2 separate regions of the Homo sapiens genome follow, and region 1 is linked to region 2. Evidence: promoter capture Hi-C in 16 types of primary human blood cells and fetal thymus (Javierre and others, 2016). All regions are on one chromosome and are shown on one strand. Each heading gives the region's core, a stretch centred on a gene start or on the middle of the fragment in contact. The rest is flanking DNA. Distances are from core to core; before and after follow the strand shown.

Region 1 (3,300 bases), core at 29-2,528, 1.5 Mb before region 2:
GGTGGGTGGGCAGGATTGGAACCTCCAGGGTACCCGATGTTGGGGGGATATGGATTTGGCCCTGGCTGCCTGGCATTGGGATTCCACATGTTTAGGTGTGTCCTTCAACCCCATCACCTTTCCACCACTGCCTGGGCTTGATGTGTTCTCTGTAGAAGATTTTTTAAAATACAGATAGTATAAAAATCCTTCCTGACCCCTCATTTGGATATTTTTTAATGGTGCCTTTTTTTTAATTGTTGACGTTCAAGATAGACTTTAAACAATCTGAAGGAAAATAAATCAATATCAATGACAGTCATGCACACTCAAGCAATCTGTTTCAAAGCCTAATCATTTGTCATCTATTCTCAGTGTTTCTATTATAATTTTTATTATAATAATAGTACAGGCTGAATCCCCAGCACCTATAGCAGTGCCTGGTTCAGAGTCGATACTTAAATATTTATGGAATGAACACTAAATGTTCTCTCAAAAAATGATAATTCAGAAATATCTGTATATTGCAAAAAGTAAAAGGTCTTCCTTACCCTCCTCTGCTCCATTCTGATGATTATGTGAAAGGAAAAGCCTCTATCCTTGGTGAATCTCTCATTTAGCTTTTCTTTTTTAAGAAGTTGTGTATTCTGGTGGTCTTTAACAGAAGAGGGCTATGTGTTATTGGGGGTTCATTGCCACCTGTAGGAGGCAAAATAACCTGTGATGAGTTGGCCCCATTGAAGTACCACACCTCTAGGAAGCCTTCCCTTCCTCCCCTTCTCTTGCCCTTGTTTCTGCAAGCTCTGTACAACACTTCTTATCCGGGTGACCTTGCCCTACAGGTAGCTGGCTACCTGCTGTGTCTTTCACAGGATGGTGAGCTCCTTGTAGACAGTGCTGTCTTTATCTTGCCACCTCCCACAGTGCCTTGGAGGGTACAGTTGCTAAACGTTTTGGAACTAAACAGAAAAAAACACAGTACAATAAGAAATTACCATAATGCTAAATCAACAAATTACTCGAATCTCTTCCCCTGACACTTTAGTAGCTCTTGAAAGGGCAATTTCAGTGATCTTGTCAAACAGCTAAGTCACATGGTGACCTAGAAGAGGGCTTGGAAGTTTGAGTCATTGCCGTTCAATACTCTTTCCTCTAGACATCCTGACCCCCATCCTCTGCAAAACCATGGGCAGTGCAGAGTAGGTCACAAGTATTGTGTTTTTATTTGTTTGTTTGTTTTTAGAGACGGGATCTTGCTGTGTTGCCCAGGCTGGTCTTGAACTCCTGGGCTCAAGTGATCCCCCCACCCTGGCCTCCCAAAGTCCTGGGATTATAGGTGTGAGCCAACATGCCTGGCCTGAGTTGTAAATCTTCCAGGCTCGTGCCACTGGCTTCTGGGAGACTATAAGATATGACCTAGTGTAAATGGAAATAATTTTTACCTATTTGGGTTCAAAGACACCAATAAATCTGTTCTTGGCCACCGAGGTCAGTTCTATTTCTTCAAATCTTGCCTAGAGTAGTGTTTGCACCTCATGTTATGGGTTGAATTGTGTCCCTCCAAAATTCATTTGTTCAAGTCCTAACCCCCAGTACCTCAGAATTTGATCTTTCAAAAGACAAAATTAGGATTGGGTGTGGTAGCTCATGCCTGTAATCCCAGCTACTCAGGAGGCTGAGGCATGAGAACTGATTGAACCTGGGAGGTGGAGGTTGCAGTAAGCCCAGATCGCACCACTGCACTCCAGCTTGGGCAACAGAGCGAGAAAAAAAAAACAAAACAAAATTACAACAAATTTAAATATCTTAACTGCTTTTATTTACAATTCTAGAATCAAGCAACACCTCATCCTATAAAATAAAACGGGTGTTCCCAAGAGCTGAGCAGAGGAGTTTGGTCCAATGGAGAGAAAAAGGCTAAGGAAAGCGGAAACAGAAAACAAAAAGTGGATTGGTTGTTTCAGAGTTACTTTCTTGTTAAGGCTGAAGCAGAGGGGATTTCCTTATCATGCCGGCTAAAACTGGCTTCTTTGGGGATTTGGCTATTATCCCTCACTCTCTTCATTTCTCAGATGGTCAGATAAACAAATTAGTTTCAATTTGGTGACATGGAACCTTAGCATGAATGACTCCATTTTGGTTGGGCCTAGTGCAGGAGCTCAGTCCAAGCCAATGGCCGCCTATAAATTTTATTTAACAGGCTTTATTTGGAAATAGGTACATTGTAGATAGAATTAGGTTATAATGAAGTCACCAGGGTGGGCCCTAACCCAATATGACTGGCGTCCTTATATAAAGAGGAAATTTCTATGTAAACACACACACAGAGGAACATGTGAAGATGAAGGTGGATATAAGGGTGTTCCTTCTACAAGCCAAGGAATGCCAAGAATTGTCAGTAGACCAGCAGAAAGTAGGGGAGAGCATGAAACAGTTTCTTCCTCGCAGCCCTCAGAAGGAACCAACTCTGACAATGCCTTGATTTTGGACTTTTGGCCTCCAGGCCTATGAGACAATAAATGTCCACTGTTTGTGGTACTTTGGTATGGCACCCTAGTAAACCAATATACCCAGGTATTACAGTCAGATATTACAGTCCATGTTAGCTGGAAACACAAGCTAACTCTGAGGAAGCCAAGTGTGAGTCTTCCAACACTGGCAGTGTTGGCAAAAGGAGCTCTGGGACAGCCTTTTCCAGTGAGTGACAGTGTGGGCTGTGCAGCTAGACTGCTGGTGTGTGAGCCTCCACTGGCTAGCTTTGCAATGTTGGGAATTGTATTTAACTTGTTGCGGCTGTACAATGGGGGACAATAAATAAGTACCTTGTCTTAGTCCTTTTGAGCTGCTATAACAAAATACCACAGACTGGGTAATTTACAAAGAGCAAAAATTGGACAGGCACAGTGGCTCATGCCTGTAATCCCAGCATTTTGGGGTGCCGAGGCAGGCGGTTCACGAGGACAGGAGTTCCAGACCAGCCTGGCCAAAAAACTCCGCCTTAAAAAAAAAAAAAAAAAAAAGCAGAAATTTATTTCACACAGTTATGGAAGCTGGGAAGTCCAAGATCAAGGCACCAGCATATTTGGTGTCTGGTGAGAGCCTTCTTGCTATGTCCTCACATGGAGGAAGGGCAGAGGGGAAAAAAGGCCTAGGTAGTTCTCTCAAGCCCCCTGCTTTTTTTTTTTTTTTTTTTTTAGATGGAGTTTTCACTCTCGTTGCCCAGGCTGGAGTGTAATGGTGCAGTCTCAGCTCACTGCAACATCCACCTCCCAGGTTCAAGTGATTCTCCTGCCTCAGCCTCCTAAGTAGCTGGGATTACGG
Region 2 (3,140 bases), core at 294-2,793:
AATCTATAAACTAAGCCACACATGAGAATGAATTACTGGACAGGCAGCCAAAAAAAAACTGTGTTCTAGTCTTGTCTCTGGCACCTGTGTGAAACCTAAGTTTCTTTTCAACTTTAGTTCTACGGTACTCCCTGCCTGTGTCACAGTGGGTGCATAGTAAACACCTGATGTGATTAGTTGGGCTCAATATTTTGTCAGCAGAGGCTTGGGTGTTCCTAAGGGTAACCGCAACAAGGTTTTCCCTGGGTGCAGTTATGTTCTGGGCAGCCGTAAGTTTAGGGCCTTGCTGCCTCCTGTAGGGCAGATGTGCAAGTTGGGGCCTAATCGTCGCAACAGTGGAGAAAAGGGGAAGGGAAGATATCCCAGCCATTAAGGGACATCGTGACAGATGTTTCTTTTAGACTTCACAAAGACCCTTCGGGACATGGATTATTGATATCATTTTTACTGAAGACGGAACCAAAATTTAGGTTAAACACTTATACCTGGCATCCCCTACCCGGGCCCTAAGTGCTCTCCAAAGACCCCACCTCTGGGCTTATTTACATCGCGAACCCGCCCTCGTTCAGCAACACGAGGGCCCCGCCCGCTCATTTGCATAGGGCGCGCCCAGTCACGGGCCGGGTCCTCGGGCTTCTCCCGAACCCCTTTTCTCTCTCAGGCGCGTCCTCCGCGCTGCGCGGGGCCTCCCCGTGGGATGAGCACGTGTCCGCTGCCGGCCTCACGACGGACGGTGGACGAGGCGGCAGGCCCCTACAGGCCCCACCCACGACGCTGGCGAGGGATCGGGCGGTCACCGGGAATCGTCTTAATGCGCGGCAAGGCGCGGGCCTCTCCCTCTCCGCCCGTGAGCCCCGGTGGGAGCGCGCCGGCGCCCAACTCAAGCGAAACCGCGGGCGTCCCGCCCCGCCCGGCCGCGCCCCGCCTCGCCTCACGCTAGACTGGGGAGGCGGGACCAATCAGCGAGCGACGTCTCCCTTCCGATTCGAGGCCCCCGATGCGCGGCTCACACCCCGAGCTTCCCTCGTGCTGATTGGCTGCGGGCGCCGCCGGTCCGGCCGGGAGGCGGGGCGGGCCGTAGGCAAAGGGAGGTGGGGAGGCGGTGGCCGGCGACTCCCCGCGCCCCGCTCGCCCCCCGGCCCTTCCCGCGGTGCTCGGCCTCGTTCCTTTCCTCCTCCGCTCCCTCCGTCTTCCATACCCGCCCCGCGCGGCTTTCGGCCGGCGTGCCTCGCGCCCTAACGGGCGGCTGGAGGCGCCAATCAGCGGGCGGCAGGGTGCCAGCCCCGGGGCTGCGCCGGCGAATCGGCGGGGCCCGCGGCCCAGGGTGGCAGGCGGGTCTACCCGCGCGGCCGCGGCGGCGGAGAAGCAGCTCGCCAGCCAGCAGCCCGCCAGCCGCCGGGAGGTGGGTGCGTGGCGCCGCGGCGGCCGGCGGCCGAGGGCGGAGGGCGGAAGCGGAGGTGGGCTGGCGGGGGAGGGCGCGGCCGTGCGGGCGGCCGGTAGGGCTGCGGGCGCGCGCCTGAGGGGAGGAGGGGCAGCGCGGGCGCGCGCGTCCTCACCCCCTCCTTCCCCGCGGGCGGCGGCCAGGCTCCCTCCCCTCCCCTTCCCTCTCCTCCCCTCCCCTCCCCTCTCTTCCCCTACCCTCCCGCGCGCCCGGGCCGCCGGCCGGGCCCGGGCCTGGGGGCGGGGCGGGAAGACGGCGGCCGGGAGTGTTTTCAGTTCCGCCTCCAATCGCCCATTCCCCTCTTCCCCTCCCAGCCCCCTCCATCCCATCGGAAGAGGAAGGAACAAAAGGTCCCGGACCCCCCGGATCTGACGGGGCGGGACCTGGCGCCACCTTGCAGGTAAAGCCTGGGCGCCCGCGGGCCTCCAGCTAGGGAAGTGTTTGCGTGCGTCCGCGGCCGGGGCGATGGGCCGTGTCACATGGCCGCTGCGGGTGGGGGCTGGGGTGTGGTGAGTTCGGGGGCTGTGGGTGCGCCGGCCCGGGCGTGCGGGTTCGGGGCCGGAGAGCCGGGAAGGGACGGGGCTCGGTTGCACTGCGCTGCCGCCCAGGCTGACGGGGGCGGGGGCTGCCTGCGTCCCTTCCCCTCGCTGCTCTCACACTCCATAGTTTGTGGTTCTGATTTTTAAAGCCGAAGGGCCAGAGCTCTTGTTTCAGGAGTTGTGGGGAAGCCTTGTTAGGGACGCGTAATACTTTGCCTCCACTTTTTTTTTTTGGTCTCGTAACCTTTGTTAACAGTGGTAGTCTCGGGTTTTCCATGGCTTGTGTGTACTCACAAACACGCACACAGCTGATAACTCTGTGATCATCCTTCACTCACTTGTGAAAGTTGTTCTGCGGGTGGAGCCTATTAGTTTTTATCACACGCCTTTGGAAAGCCCTCGAAGTGATTTCTCGTATTTCAAACTTGGTTTTTAAAATTGCAACTTACTTTGTTCTCTTGGAGGGGGATATTGTCTTTGGGTCAGGTACTTTTGTCTTTTACTTATCCTTAAAATGTCCTTTTGATCCTAAACAGAAAAAGAATGCCTGGGTTGGTTTTGTTATTCCTTTCTCTTGACCCTTTAAAAGCAAAATACCACCAGTGTGTTGTCAACCATACCTTTAAAAAAGAAATTTCCAGGTAAAACGAATTTGCAAGCAGCATTTTCCATCAAAGTCATGTCTTGTTTGTTGCAATTTGGACTATCTTAAATTTGGGTTTGTGAAACTTTTAAAACGACATGTGTAAAATAATTGTTAATAAATAAATAACTTGGAATAATTACATCTTTTTAGAAATGGTCTTTGAAATGTGATTTAATTTCCAAAATTCTTTTTCTCTCTTCTGACTTCATATGAATTGAACCTGATAGTTTCGTATGAATGAATCGCTGATAGGATGTTTTCCTTGAGCCTAGTAATAAATTTGCTCTTATTATGCTGAAAATTTGCTATTCTACTTTAACACCCTTTAAAAAGTTTCCATCTTACAGAGAAGTTAGTCAAATAGTTAAATGGAGTTTCAACAGTTTTAATACATGAATTAGTGAAGCAGATGAAGCAGAGATGGGAGAAGTAATTTAAAATGGGCTTCATAAATGTACCATAGTTTGAGGGTATTTAAAAAATTTGCCTTCGGAAAACCCATACAAGATATTTA

Evidence for each region. The method cuts DNA at HindIII sites, captures the fragments that hold promoters and counts their contacts. A CHiCAGO score of 5 or more calls a contact.
Region 1: a fragment that was not itself captured here is called in contact with the fragment with the promoter of SMAD2 in region 2 in 1 of 17 cell types (neutrophils); the score reaches 6.4 in neutrophils.

Annotation. Positions count from the first base shown.
Region 1 is chr18:49,466,590-49,469,889 of GRCh38, reverse strand. It overlaps the pseudogene PRR13P4. Among named protein-coding and RNA genes, the nearest start is that of DYM, 7.6 kb to the right of the region's middle. The HindIII fragment of the contact is 6,859 bases long and covers 1-3,300 here.
Region 2 is chr18:47,929,062-47,932,201 of GRCh38, reverse strand. SMAD2 (SMAD family member 2) reads left to right here and starts at 1,543. Exons shown (of 11, transcript NM_005901.6): 1 at 1,543-1,841. LOC124904297 (a long non-coding RNA gene) reads left to right here. Exons shown (of 2, transcript XR_007066360.1): 2 at 1-14. RefSeq lists silencers at 625-1,554, 1,585-2,114. The HindIII fragment of the contact is 8,478 bases long and covers 1-3,140 here.